Linked DNA regions of Homo sapiens: regions 1, 2, 3 and 5 are each linked to region 4. The links are contacts of gene promoters, found by promoter capture Hi-C in blood cells and fetal thymus (Javierre and others, 2016). All regions are on one chromosome and are shown on one strand. The core of a region is centred on a gene start or on the middle of the fragment in contact, and the rest is flanking DNA. Distances in the headings are between cores, read along the strand shown. Region 1 overlaps KDSR (3-ketodihydrosphingosine reductase). Region 2 overlaps PIGN (phosphatidylinositol glycan anchor biosynthesis class N). Region 3 has its middle 23 kb from the start of VPS4B. Region 4 holds the start of PHLPP1 (PH domain and leucine rich repeat protein phosphatase 1). Region 5 overlaps VPS4B (vacuolar protein sorting 4 homolog B).

Region 1 (2,774 bases), core at 1-2,500, 620 kb after region 4:
AATCCTAGTAATGTGGACAGAAATCAGTCGGACACATCAGAAACAGTGGAGTGTGCTCGTTCACTTTAAGTGAGATAAAATGGTCACAAAGCATTGATCAGCACTCAGAAATGGACGCACGGCCTTGGCAGATGGCAGTTCTCAACAAGTGAGTCCACGGACCCCTGCGGGCCCCCAAGGACAAATGATTGTCCTAATAACACTAAGACATTCATTGTCTTTTCCACAGTGTGTTGTATGGAAAATACAGTTTTGCCTCTGCAAAACTGCAGAGACATGGGCAAGAACCACGGGGTTCTTGCCAAACTGTACTAGGAGTCATTGTCACCTCTACTACCACACGCACTCGCAGTAATAAATAATACACAAAGAAAATACAAGTTCTAAAATTCTTTTAAAAATCAAAGTGTCAGTTTTGCTTTAAAATCCTCTTGATAAAGCAGGAAAATTCATCATTTTGTTCAATGGCAACCCTCGAGGACATGTCTTCTTAATACTCTGTGTGACAAATGAGAATGCGCCCAACGCGCTTCCGCAGCACTGCATTCCAGGGCGGGACAACTGCCTGGAACAAAAGTCCTTGTGCAGCTCCTGAAGTCAAGGGCTAAACTGCCACTTCTTTCATGGAGCATCATTTGTATTGTTTATTTATTTATTTTCGACAGAATCTCACTCTGTGGCCCAGGCTGGAATGCAGTGGTGTGATCTCTGCTCACTGCAACCTCTGCCTCCCAGGTTCAAGTGATTCTCCTGCCTCAGACTCCCAAGTAGCTGGGATTACAGGCATGCACCACCACACCCGGGTAATTTTTGTATTTTTAGTAGAGATGGGGTTTCACCATGTTGGCCAGGCTGGTCTCAAACCCCTGAGCTCAAGCAATCCAGCCGCCTCGGCCTCCAAAAGTGCTGGGATTACAGGCATGAGCCACCGTGCCTGGCTGGAGAGCATAATTTTTATATGAAAGACCATTGACAGGAAATCTATAGTAATTCAGACTTAGGTATGTGGCAGATGTGCAGAAAGCGAAGCAAGCAAGTGTGTCACTTCAGGAAAAACAACTGGCCACGTGTCATCAATGTGAAATCTGAGCCTTCAAGAAAAAATTAAGATTTGGAAAAACTAGTATCCACCATCACGAGACTGTCAGCTGCATACTTTTATGATAAGATCAGCAGTAATACTGATGAAAGCGATTTTTCTGATCACTCAGTCAACCCATATTTTCCAAATGACTAATGCATAATGTTACGAAATCATGAATGGTTAAAAGATCCATTCAAAGTACAAGACGGACCAATGGAATTTAATGTAACAGAGAACAAAACATTCATTGATGTAGTTTCCAATTCTATACTGCAACTAACCTTTAAGAAACTACCATTTGTTGAGTTTGGGTTTGATATCAAAAAAGAATGTCCATAATTATCTGAAAAGCCTAGTAAAATAGTCTTCCCTTTCCCAACTCCGTATCTGTCTCAGGCCAGATTTTCTGTATATCCTTCCATCAAAACAACATTATTACAACAGATGGAATGCAGAAGCAGCTATTTGAATCCAGCTGTTAATGCAGACCTTAAAGCAACTGGTGAAAATGTGAACCAATGCCACCGTCCTCACTGAACTTTTGTTTTGAAAAGTAGTAAATTTTGTTTAAAAAAAGTCACTTTATATATATGTGACTTTATATATATATATATGTGACTTTATATATATATATATGTGAATATATATATATATATATATATATGGAGTTTTGCTCTTGTTGCCCAGGCTGGAGCACAATGGCTCAATCTCAGCTCACTGCAGTCTCCACCTCCTGGGTTCAAGCGATTCTCCTGTCTCAGCCTCCCAAGTAGCTGGGATTACAGGCGCATGTCACCACACCCGACTAATTTTTGTATTTTTAGTAGAGACGGGGTTTCATCATATTGGTCAGGCTGGTATTGAACTCCTGACTTCAGGTGATCCGCCCGCCTTGGCCTCCCAAAGTGTTGGGATTACAGGCACGAGTCACTGTGCCCAGCCATTTTTGTTATTTTTAATGAATCAATAAATATTACAAACAGCTTCCATTTCAAATATGGCAAATATCAATAAATATAGCCATGTAAATAAACAAAAGTTCTCTGGGGTTGTTGACAATTTGTAAGAATGTAAAGTGGTCAAGAGAAGAAAAGTTTGAAAACCACTAAACTAAATGAATACTGCCAAAATACTAAGAGCTATTTAGCATCATTAGAAACACTGAATGGGCTGGGCACGGAGCTCACGCCTGTAATCCCAGCACTTTGGCCAAGAGGCTGAGGCGTGCGGATTACCCGAAATCAGGAGTTCGAGACCAGCCTGGCCAACATGGTGAAGCCCCATTTCTACTACAAATACAAAAAATTAGCCAGGTGTGGTTGTGAGCACCTGTAATCCCAGCTACTCAGAAGGCCGAGGCAGGAGAATCACTTAAACCCAGGAGGCAGAGGTTGCAGTGAGCCAAGATCGTGCCACTGCACTCCAGCCTGGGCAACAAGAGCAAAACTCCGTCTCAAAACAAACAAACAAACAAAACAACAACAACAACAAAAAACACCAAATGCATTTGCTTTGACCCGAGATAAGCAGGAAAAATAAAGTCTCACTTGTGCCATCTTCCTGAGCCTTTTAATGCACTCAGGACAAAGTTCTTCACACATGTATATATTTCAACAGAATTCACTATTCTCATTCTGCTCAGTTCAGTCTAATGTGACAGCATTTAGGCCACTTCAAGGCTGTCCACCAT
Region 2 (2,700 bases), core at 92-2,591, 530 kb before region 4:
AGGTCTTTTATAGACTAGCCTCTGCCTTCTTTTCTAAACCTGTCTCATAGCACTCCCCTTTACTTTGTAACATCTCACATCACTGGCCCCTTCTTTTATTCAAGTATCCCACTGCTATAAGACCTTTGTAGGCTCAATTCCTCTCTGCAGAATGTACTTGCAACCTATCTTCCACTCTCTCCTAACATTCCATTTCAAGCATCACTTCCTCAGGGACTATGCAGGTGAAGTCAGAAACGAAAACTTTTACTTCAGTTTGTAATTACATAGCTTTGTCTACGACTATTTGAATTAATGTCTGTCTCTGTCACTTCACCACAATTCCATGACAGCAGGACGGGGCATCTCCAACACCCATCAGAGTCTTATGCACTTAGTAAGGACTCAAATGTTTGCTGAATAAATTATTTAGAATTATCATTTCAAGGGTAAATGCAATATGCACTACAGCCACTAGAGGATGCCCTGCTTCTGTTTTTGTTCCTCCAGAACAAGATGTGAAGACTGAAAATACTTTAAAAAAAAAAAAACTAAACCTTTTATGATAAAGTAATTTACTATTAATGTAAATAAAATTGCAGTTATTACAAAATATCAGCATTCACTAACTACTTATTTTAATTAGTTTAATTGCTTAATACTAAATATTACTTAATACTTCTCTTTAAAGAAAATCACAATTTATTCAGATTTATTGAAAAAGAAATACCTCCAAAACAAACACATAACTATTAAAATTTTAAAAAGATATATGCATGTACCAATACAAGTTATCTAGTTTATCTGTGGATGTTTACCACACACTGAAAAACAATAAAACATGAGGTATTACTAAAACCTCAAGTCAACCAAAACTTGCATTCAGAATATTACTTGTGGTTCTTTTAAGACTATTAAAACCTAAAATAATTTTTTAAATACTAAAATGATTGACGTGCTTTGAAAAAAGGCATCTTTTACATCTTCATTGCTAAGGCACAAGCTTTAATAACTATCATTAGTCAGATGAAACATTAGTTGTAAGGGCCTAGATTAATGAAAATCTTACTAAGTAGAAAGGAAATTTCCCAACACTATTAATAATACATTATTATAAGTAGTGATCGGTAATTTTTAATATTCCAGTGTGTGTTACTTATACATTATTCACGAATAACCAAACCTCTGTGTATTGTGGAAAAGAAAAGTACATACTGGGAAGACTGGGCAGTTGATTTCTAATGGGCTTACAAGATCAAACACACAAGTTCATGGTTATAGGATAGGAGGCAGAAATAGAAGCAGAAAACCACAGATTTGTATGGGAAGAATTCCTCTACATGCAAGTTCTTACAACTCTGAGGAAACATTTTAAATCTATTTTCAACTTGTGTTTTAGAACTGAGACCCCAAATTAAAGATACTCCCTTCAGCCCTACTGACTTAATTGCTTTTTCAGGCTTGCACTGCCAAAACGATTGATATTAGTTTTATTTTTAAACACTTGTCAAATGTTCTCAACACATACTAATATTTCAATAATTAATAAGTGACCACAGTAATAGTTATTGTGTAGCAGGTACCAGGCACTGGGACAAGAACATTCTCAATTCTGTGTACTTTCCTTATCCCCTTTGATAGACGAATGCAAGTGAGGCTGAGAAGTTAGGTAACTTTTTCAAGGTCTCACAATAAATAATGAGTAGAATTGGGATCTGAACTTAAGCTTTTCTATCTTATAAGCATAATCCTCTTCAGGAATCCTAAATGCAGGAGATTTCTCAATTTCCCAATCATGGAGATGGAAATATTGTATATAAACAATCCATTTCTAATCATGCCCTTCCCATGCCATTCACTAATCCTCCATTCCTGGATTCCAGAAATTGGTTCCATTTTAATCTCTCTGGAAAATCCAACTAAAATACGGATCAGCAATCCCTTTTGCTAAGAAATCTCTAACAGGATACAGTATTTGCCATTTCAATTCTATTTGGGGGGATTTTTTTCCCCATGTTTTACTTTTAATATATGGCACAGAAAACTATTTATCATTAAAACATTGGGAACTAATGTCCTATAAAAAAATAGTTTAAATTCTTGGTACTTTTTTTTTAAACTTCTAGCAAAAATAAAATTTTAAAAACCCAAATCCCCATTCAAATGAAAATTTTAGTTTATTGAGCCTGGGTATATTGAAATTAAAGCCTACTCTTAACTGTTGGCATACTTTTACATGTAAACCAATAACCTGACCTAAGGTTATGTAAGAATCGTCTATTTTAATTTTTCCATGGAGCTAACGGGAGATACTTTACTGTGGAATGTTTACTACACACTGAATGTAATATGTCACTTACCTGTACACTAAGAAAGGAAATCTAAAGCCTGGAAAAGTGGTCATTTGTGTGTGAAAAAAATAGGAGCCATAAGAAATAGCAGTCTAATTGTATTGACTGGAAATTCCTTTACCTTTTCAGATCATAATCAAGGAATGACATAAAAGATAAACGTTGATCTTCTAAACTTAGGATATGTACTTTATATGCTAACATTTCATCAAAAAAATCAAAACTCTCTGAAGCATTCAACTTTTAAAATAGTTCTAAGTTCCAAAACCTTGATTCTAGCCTGCATGAACGAGTCAGAAATGTTGCAGGAGACAGTGGATAAAGAATCGTTTGGGACATAAGAGAAATGATGTTAATTCCTTTGACTCCT
Region 3 (2,845 bases), core at 266-2,765, 730 kb after region 4:
TGAGTCAAGGGCGTGTCATGGTACAGGCGGGGGAATCCTGAGTGTGCAGAACTTTACCTTATGTTCTATGAGCCATTTGAAGCATAGTTCTTTTTTTTTTTCTTTTTGTCCCTTTGAGATGGAGTCTTGCTCTGTCGCCCAGGCTGGAGTGCAGTGGTGCGATCTCAGCTCACTGCAAACTCTGCCTCCTGGGTTCAAGAAATTCTCCTGCCTCAGCCTCCCGAGTAGCTGGGATTACAGGCGCCTGCCACCATGCCCAACTGATTTTTGTATTTTTAGTAGAGATGGGGTTTCACCATGTTGGCTAGGCTGATCTCGAACTCCTGACCTCAAGTTATCCACCTGCCTCGGCTGAGATTATAGGTGTGAGCCACCTCATTCAGCCTGAAACATAGTTCTAAAAAGCTTATTTTTCATTCCTTTTTTTTCCTGTTTATTCAATTTAACAAGTGTTGTGGTTGGAAATATAGATTGCTTATTTCTTGAGTACTTACTTTTAAACCTGAGTGAATGCCTAGACATTTGAAAACTCAATAAATTAAAAGCACGTGGTAGCTTATAGAAATATTACAACACACACACACACCCAGTATGTCTGAGTGAGTCAAACGGAGTGTCTTTGCAAAATGTGCTGTCTGAATGAGACAGCGATTATGTCACTCATTGGCAATAAACACTTGTGGAGCCATCACTGAGGCTGACAGGAAGTTAAAAAAAGAGTCTCTGGGGAAACAGCTTGTTCTGCTTCTGATTCCATGAGATGTAACTATGTCTCTCGAAATGCGTACATATATATTTTATTACTTATTACCACATAAAACTTCATCCCTAAGGTAGGGTGCCCATCGTGATGATGGATTTGAGTACTAGCATTCATTCTTCAAAGGCACAGTTCAGCAACCCCATTCCTGGGGTGAATATGCGCCTGAAATGGGAGCTATTTTCTTTAATGGCCAAAACCCCCCACAGAACAACCAAAAACCACACCCAAAAATTCTTCCCCATTCTTCCTCAAAGTGTGAATTCATTCTCTTGAGCCAAGATTCACAGAAGACAAGGTGCTGGGCATCATGTAGCAGAAAAGCCCTCATTCCTAGAAGCTGGAACCCATGATCCTCTTGTTGGGGCCTGTTAGGGTGATTCTCTGTTGGAACAAACCCCACTCGGAGCTGGGCCCAGTCCCTGGGCAGAGAGCCTGCCCAGTCACATTTGTATCCTAAAGCCAAATATCTTGTCTTATGAGGAAATTAACCAGTTCTCCTAGACGTTTTATGGGAGCAGCAGAGAGGGTGGGTTTGACTGAGGAGAGAGAGAAAGAAAGGCCCAGAGAGAGGAGCCAAGCCTCATTGGCTTAGAGTTATTGGGAAAAACGTGAGTTTACATAAAGGAAAATTCTAAATTATGGAGTATCTCAAAAGAAATATAATTTAATATTTGAAAGTATGTAATAAACACAAATACCTATGGTTATTAGTCAACTAAATGAAAAGGTATAATTTTTCTTTTTTCTTTCTTTTTTTTTTTTTTCTTTTTTCTTTCTTTCTTTTTTTTGAGACAGAATCTCCCTCTGTGGCCCAGGCTGGAGTGCAGTGGCATGATCTCGGCTCACTGCAATCTTTGCCTCCCGGGTTCAAGTGATTCTCTTGCCTCAGTCTCCTGAGTAGCTGGGATTAAAAGTGTGCATCACTACACCCAGCTAATTTTTATATCTTTAGTAGAGACAGGGTTTTGCCATGTTGGCCAGGCTGGTCTTGAACTCCTGACCTCAGGTGATCCACCCGCCTTGGCCTCCCAAAGTCCTGGGATTACAGACGTGAGCCATGGTGCCCGGCCTAGACACACTCTTGTACTGCCATTACCCCTCCAGGGTTGTCATGACCTGTAACCCCAGGGGGGACTTTTTGATAGAGACGTGCTGTCTCCCTGGGCCTCCTCCAGCATTTGAGGCTCCAGTGATCCGCCCACCTGGGCCTCCCAAAGTGCTAGGATTACAGGCATGAGCCACTGCACCTGGCCTACAAAAGTATAATTTTTCTTAGTCCTACATTGTATATTAATATATCATAAACATTAAAAAGTGATTTTGAGCTTTTAAACAAATACAATTCAGTGCTATGTATACATAAGAATAAATTTTAAATTCGTGAAGTTAAAATCAAGGAAGATCTTTGGCTTGTTATTATTAATTGTTGCTTAATCATTGCAATAATAACTGCTCTAAGGTTTCTGAAAGGGCATCTGAGAGGTGACACTCTTTGCAATGGAACAATTTGAATTCAGTGACCCGTGGGACTTACTTCATTGGTAACAGACTTGGACAATACTAATTGGTCTGGAGATGGACATGTGACCAGAGTTTGGCCAATCAGCATGCTGCCTTGAGGTCTGCCTGCCTGGAGCTGGCCGGATAGAGCTTTGTGCTCTCTGGCCATGGGGTAGGTGTTGATGAAGCTGTAGGTCTCCTGTTGCCTGGGGAAAGTCCACCTGCAGCGGTAGACTGAGGCCAACATGCAGAGAGAAGCAGAGATGAAAGGAAGTGAGATAATGTCCTGCCTGGGCTAAATCCCTGGTCTTTGCCTACCCTACTTGTTTAAATGGACATATACTGTCTCCTTTCACTGTGGGCAAGCTTATGTTTCTGTTACTTGCAAGCAAAAGGATCTACCTGATCCATTACTCATTAGTATTATTTCCTTGAATTTGCAAGGAAACTGAACACTAAGGCACTGGTGTGAAGTTTGTTGTCATGTTGTACGTCGCATCTGTAGCTTCATGGGTACTCCTTTAGGTGTTTCTATGTGTTTACTTATGATTAAGGCACTGCTGATGGGAATGGTATATACTG
Region 4 (2,747 bases), core at 27-2,526:
CAAAGCAATTGGGGGAATGGTAATTCAATTAAAAAGGTGTACAACATTCTTTTAAATAGTAAACTGCCCAATGATTACAACATTGATTCAACTGACGAAAAATACAACTTTTCAGACCACGACTAAACATTGTGGCAGTAGAAACTATTTTTTTTTTCCCTGAATGATGAAAGAAAAAAACCAGAGAAGACGTTAAGACAGAACACGTGGAAAAAGCCCATCTCATACTCCATTCTAATGTTTCTTCTACTTACCAGTGCTTTCTGTGTCATTAAACTACTTCAGACTTCAAGAGCAATGGGAAACAATGAAACCTCAGTCCTTTGCTATTTTCCTTTTCAGGTACAGGAGAGGGAGAGGACAGACTTAGGGTTGTGCCTTCGAACAAGCACATTCAACGACAGCCTCAGTTAGAATTCCCAGACGCTGCCTGTCTTCCTGGGTCTTGAAAAAGTGGGGAAAAAGTGAGGTTGGCCCACTCAGACTGCCAGTGATGCTGTGGTGTGACGGGTGTGTATCTCTATCTCATACAATGGGCGCAGGTGAGGACCAGGACCTGCGACCTTCGTACGTTTACAGTCCCTGAAAGCCCTCACCTTTAATTAGTAGGGAAAATAAAAGTCATCTGGCAAGCTGGAGTGCGGGTAAAATACAAGTTAATGAACATGAGCATTCGTGTTCATTAAGAACTCTGGCACAGAGTTCAACGGCAGAGGGCACAATACTCACTGGCCACGGCCAGCTGCTGGCGGCCAGGAGAAGCAGAACCAAAGGACCGCTGGGACTTGTAGTCCACCATGTTTCCCTCGGGATTGCCGATCCCCTTACGAGAACCACAACTCCCAAGGTTTACCGCGCGCGTCGGTCTTCACTGCCCTCTCCGAGGCCGGCTCAGGAACCTCCCGGGAAACTGCCCCCCACCCCGCCCTCGTACGCACGCGTCACGTTTGTTTACCCTGAAGCTCCGCCTCCGGCCATCCCCTGGCTCTCCCCACTCCTCCCTGGAATGCCGTCATGCCGGCGATGAATATTTATGAGGCACACGCGGCCCTCCCGCCCTGCCAGCCTCCCGCCTTCCCGCTCCCGGCGCATGATTAATATTCAATGAGCCCAGATCCGCGGCTGGTTCGCCGGGTTGAGGCGGGGGTAGCGGGCGGGGCCGGCGCTGGGGAGCCCGCGACCCGGGCGGGGAGGGCGTGTGTCGGGGGGGCGGTGGCGGCGAGGCGGGCGCGCGGGATGGAACACTGAGACACCGACGGAATGCTCCGAATCGCCACATAATCCCCTGGAACGGCCGCGCACAACGCCATTGGCTTCTCCCTTCTCCGCGCGCCGCCGCCGTCTCCCACCTCCGCCTCATCGCCTCCCTCTCCGCCCGCTGCCTCCGGAGCTGGGGGGGAAACGCGAAGCCCCACTGCAATGGAGCCCGCCGCCGCGGCCACGGTACAGCGACTCCCCGAGCTCGGCAGGGAGGACCGAGCTTCGGCTCCGGCGGCCGCCGCTGCGGCAGCAGCAGCAGCAGCGGCGGCCGCGGCGGCTCTGGCGGCGGCGGCCGGGGGCGGCCGGAGTCCGGAGCCCGCGCTGACCCCGGCGGCCCCGAGCGGCGGGAACGGCAGCGGCAGCGGGGCGCGGGAAGAGGCCCCAGGCGAGGCGCCGCCGGGGCCGCTGCCGGGCAGAGCGGGGGGTGCCGGGCGCAGGAGGCGGCGCGGGGCGCCCCAGCCCATTGCCGGCGGGGCTGCCCCCGTACCCGGGGCCGGCGGCGGCGCCAACTCCCTCCTGCTGAGGAGAGGGCGGCTGAAGAGGAATCTGTCCGCGGCCGCCGCGGCCGCCTCCTCGTCGTCGTCGTCCTCGGCCGCTGCTGCCTCGCACTCCCCCGGCGCTGCCGGCCTCCCCGCCTCCTGCTCGGCCTCGGCGTCGCTGTGCACCCGGAGCCTGGACAGGAAGACGCTGCTTCTGAAGCACCGGCAGACGCTGCAGCTGCAGCCGTCGGACCGGGACTGGGTGAGGCACCAGCTCCAGCGCGGCTGCGTGCACGTCTTCGACCGCCACATGGCCTCGACCTACCTGCGCCCGGTGCTCTGCACACTGGACACCACGGCCGGCGAGGTGGCCGCCCGCCTGCTGCAGCTGGGCCACAAAGGCGGCGGCGTGGTGAAGGTGCTGGGCCAGGGGCCCGGAGCCGCCGCCGCCCGGGAGCCCGCTGAACCGCCCCCCGAGGCCGGCCCCCGGCTGGCGCCCCCGGAGCCGCGGGACTCGGAGGTACCGCCCGCGAGGAGCGCGCCGGGTGCCTTCGGGGGGCCTCCGCGCGCGCCCCCCGCCGACCTACCCCTGCCCGTCGGCGGCCCGGGCGGGTGGTCGCGCCGCGCCAGCCCAGCGCCCTCGGACTCCAGCCCCGGCGAGCCGTTCGTTGGGGGCCCTGTCTCTTCGCCCCGCGCCCCACGGCCTGTGGTCTCCGACACCGAGAGCTTCAGTCTGAGTCCCAGCGCCGAGAGCGTGTCTGACCGGTTGGACCCCTACAGCAGCGGCGGCGGCTCCTCGTCGTCGTCGGAAGAGCTCGAGGCCGACGCAGCCTCGGCCCCGACGGGGGTCCCGGGCCAGCCCCGCCGTCCCGGCCACCCCGCGCAGCCCCTCCCGCTTCCCCAGACGGCTTCCTCGCCTCAGCCGCAGCAGAAAGCCCCGAGGGCCATTGACAGCCCGGGCGGGGCCGTCCGCGAGGGGTCGTGCGAGGAGAAGGCAGCGGCAGCCGT
Region 5 (2,713 bases), core at 102-2,601, 690 kb after region 4:
AATACCATCAAATTTTGCAGTGTGCTAATAGTATAAGTGTTACCTTCTCTAAAAGGCGGCAAATAAACAAAAAGAAAGAGCAAGTTGACTGAGAGCCTTTTAAAGGCAGATGTGAAGCCAACAAAACTATTACATAAAAAAGACCAAACCATGATCCTAGAGGGCAAACCCTAAGAAAACACTCTAAACAAAGCCAGCACATGACTATTGGGAACCAAAGCCAGTTCTTAAACTTCATTTAAATATAGAGGGAGAACAAAAACAATTCAAATAGACAATTCACTTTGAGTCTTTTTAATAGGATAGTAAATTTAAAAATGAAATCTAAAGCAACCTTGAAGTTGATTCTGTAGTTTCTTTTTTTCAGGATCATCAGATTCTCCTTCCCCATCACTGTCATTCCTAATAAAAAGAATTTAATATATTCAAATGATCACTCATTGCTATCAAATAAGGCAAAAATGAAGGAAAAATTAACCTGAAATATTTGTAATTTCAGTGGCAAAATCAGACATTTACATTAAAAGTTATGCTTACTTATTTTAAAGAATGTAGTAAATAAGAAGCAGTCACGTTATCATCAATAGAGAATCATGTAAAAGAAAGGGACAAAAAGACCAGAATGAAGTCAGGAACTAGCTCCAAATTCCCATGACATATTTAGGTATGTATTAATTCATAAATGCATGCCCCACACATCACTCCATGAAGGATTCAAGATGAATCACAGGAGAGCTGCAAACAACAACAGTAAAAACATCAGGACTGGGCAAGATATAAATTAGAACAAGAGGTCATATTAGGAGGAAAAAAATCTGGAACACTAAGGTACAAAGGTCTACAACCCTTAGTCTGGGGATTCCAAAGGACAGAGGAAGCTTCCTGATGACAATGAACTACACCCAAAGAACAAGTAGGTCGATCAAGGCATTTCATTCATATCTAGGGATTTATCTTGAGGAAATAATTTTAGACAAGTTCAAGCATTTGACCATAAGGATAATCACACCCACACTGTTTGCAAAAGGGGAAAAAGTAACTCATATTATAGGGACTAGCATATGACAGGATACATTGCAACATTTAAACGTGATGTAGAAATAGTTTATTGGAAAGATATTCCTGATACAATGTTAAGTATAAAAGTGATAAAGCCAAAAATAAGGCATTATATCATTTTTAAAACAATAACATATAAAGGGAGATAAAAGCATGACATGTTTTATGCCAAAATGGAATTGCCTTGGTTATCATAGGACGGTGGGGCTGTGGGTGAGGTAGACACTGCAAAAGATTCACATGACACTCACTCCAACCTCTTTCTATCATGCTGTCCAGTACTATAAAGGCTGTCCTTATTAAAAACAAACAAACAAAAAAAACCCTGCCGTTTCTCATCTCCCTTGTAGCTAGGGTTCCACATGAGACCTAAATTCTTCCAAGAAGGTGGGGGCTGCTCACAAGGAGACAGAATCTTCAGGCGAAGGCACTGGTTTTGCTGAGGGAGCTGCGCAGAGGATTTACTACCTGCTCCCAAGCACCATCAGTGCTTAGCAGAGGAGTTGGCAACAGTGGGATCCCTACTTGAACAACCCTGGTACTGTTGGCCATTTCTCCTGATTCCCTGGCCCCACTATTCTGTAAGGTAATACCCTATAATATATCCCTTTTTGCTTAAATTAGCCAAAGTGGGTCCTACTGTAAACGAAGATTGCTGTTCAGTACAAAAGAAAAACTGGCATCGCCTTGTCAGGTAATCATCTCAGAAGAGATCCTTACAGGGTTTTCAAGCAAGAGAGAAGAGCTTCTATGGACAAGGGAAGAGAAGCTTCTGCTGTCAAGGGAGTCTCAGTGACAGCTGGAGGTCCTGGGCAGTCAAGGTCAACTAAATTCTTCCCAATATTTTCACTTCATGTTTGGAGTCCCTGTTTTATACCAAATGTCCTCACTTTCATATAAGAAACCCTAAGTTGGAATTCAGTAATTTGTAAGATCAGACTATCATCTGATTTTTGTTAAGTCAGTGCTATCGATGAAGAAGATAACATGTTCTTAGGGTGTCACAGAAACTCCCTGGTTCCCCGATCACATCTTGAACAGAGAATATAAAACCTTGAGCTTAAGCTTATCATTTCCTTCAAACTCTGCCACATAGTTTGAAGCAGCCAAGTCAACACTGGTTCTTATATTCCTCATGTACTTCCAAATGGTCTGTGGTAGCAGCCACGAAGCCCCAAAGCACTGCCTAAAAGGCACTTCATTCCTTGTGACCACAGGGTATTGTCTAAATAACCTGCGCCACTGCATACCATGAACAATGAGAACCACATCCTCTAAAGCTGAGCAGAATCTCGCTGTTTTCAAACCCAAGCAGGCCAGATAACTCCATCCCAGAGTCTCATTTTCTTAAGGGTGTGTTACCTGGAACTACTGGCATCAATTAATAGGACAGCCAGAGAGGATGTGGTTAGAATATGTTCCCAGTGCTGAGCACAAACTTGGCACGCATATGTCATGTACTGAATAAACAAATTCTGCATCTAGAAGTGATACATCCCCCATCTAGGAAGACATGCCAAAAATCAGTTTCAACGTTTATAAGTTATGCTGTGTTGTTTTCTTTACAATGACAACATAAAGCAAATCTAACACAAATTCACATCAAAAAATTTTGCATAAGATATCCAAAAAAAATTTACATTGTTGGAGTTAC

The links. The method cuts DNA at HindIII sites, captures the fragments that hold promoters and counts their contacts. A CHiCAGO score of 5 or more calls a contact.
Region 1: a contact is called between a fragment that was not itself captured here and the fragment with the promoter of PHLPP1 in region 4, in 3 of 17 cell types (total B cells, fetal thymus and naive CD4 T cells). The highest score is 7.5, in total B cells.
Region 2: a fragment that was not itself captured here is called in contact with the fragment with the promoter of PHLPP1 in region 4 in 1 of 17 cell types (fetal thymus); the score reaches 6.3 in fetal thymus.
Region 3: a contact is called between a fragment that was not itself captured here and the fragment with the promoter of PHLPP1 in region 4, in 3 of 17 cell types (total B cells, naive CD4 T cells and activated CD4 T cells). The highest score is 11.2, in total B cells.
Region 5: a contact is called between a fragment that was not itself captured here and the fragment with the promoter of PHLPP1 in region 4, in 1 of 17 cell types (naive CD4 T cells). The highest score is 5.1, in naive CD4 T cells.

What each region holds. Positions count from the first base shown.
Region 1 is chr18:63,335,390-63,338,163 of GRCh38, forward strand. The region is part of intron 8 of KDSR (3-ketodihydrosphingosine reductase); the gene reads right to left. Among named protein-coding and RNA genes, the nearest start is that of BCL2, 17 kb to the left of the region's middle. The HindIII fragment of the contact is 6,476 bases long and covers 1-2,774 here.
Region 2 is chr18:62,183,327-62,186,026 of GRCh38, forward strand. All of the region lies in intron 1 of PIGN (phosphatidylinositol glycan anchor biosynthesis class N), which reads right to left. Among named protein-coding and RNA genes, the nearest start is that of PIGN, 2.4 kb to the right of the region's middle. The HindIII fragment of the contact is 723 bases long and covers 981-1,703 here.
Region 3 is chr18:63,444,114-63,446,958 of GRCh38, forward strand. No RefSeq gene overlaps it. Among named protein-coding and RNA genes, the nearest start is that of VPS4B, 23 kb to the left of the region's middle. RefSeq lists a silencer at 628-737. The HindIII fragment of the contact is 2,224 bases long and covers 404-2,627 here.
Region 4 is chr18:62,714,265-62,717,011 of GRCh38, forward strand. PHLPP1 (PH domain and leucine rich repeat protein phosphatase 1) reads left to right here and starts at 1,277. Exons shown (of 17, transcript NM_194449.4): 1 at 1,277-2,747. The coding sequence starts at 1,420. RefSeq lists enhancers at 481-540, 631-740, 1,698-2,660 and silencers at 1,011-1,300, 1,651-1,880, 2,091-2,230, 2,541-2,640, 2,741-2,747. The HindIII fragment of the contact is 14,296 bases long and covers 1-2,747 here.
Region 5 is chr18:63,407,098-63,409,810 of GRCh38, forward strand. VPS4B (vacuolar protein sorting 4 homolog B) reads right to left here. Exons shown (of 11, transcript NM_004869.4): 4 at 335-402. Among named protein-coding and RNA genes, the nearest start is that of VPS4B, 14 kb to the right of the region's middle. The HindIII fragment of the contact is 950 bases long and covers 877-1,826 here.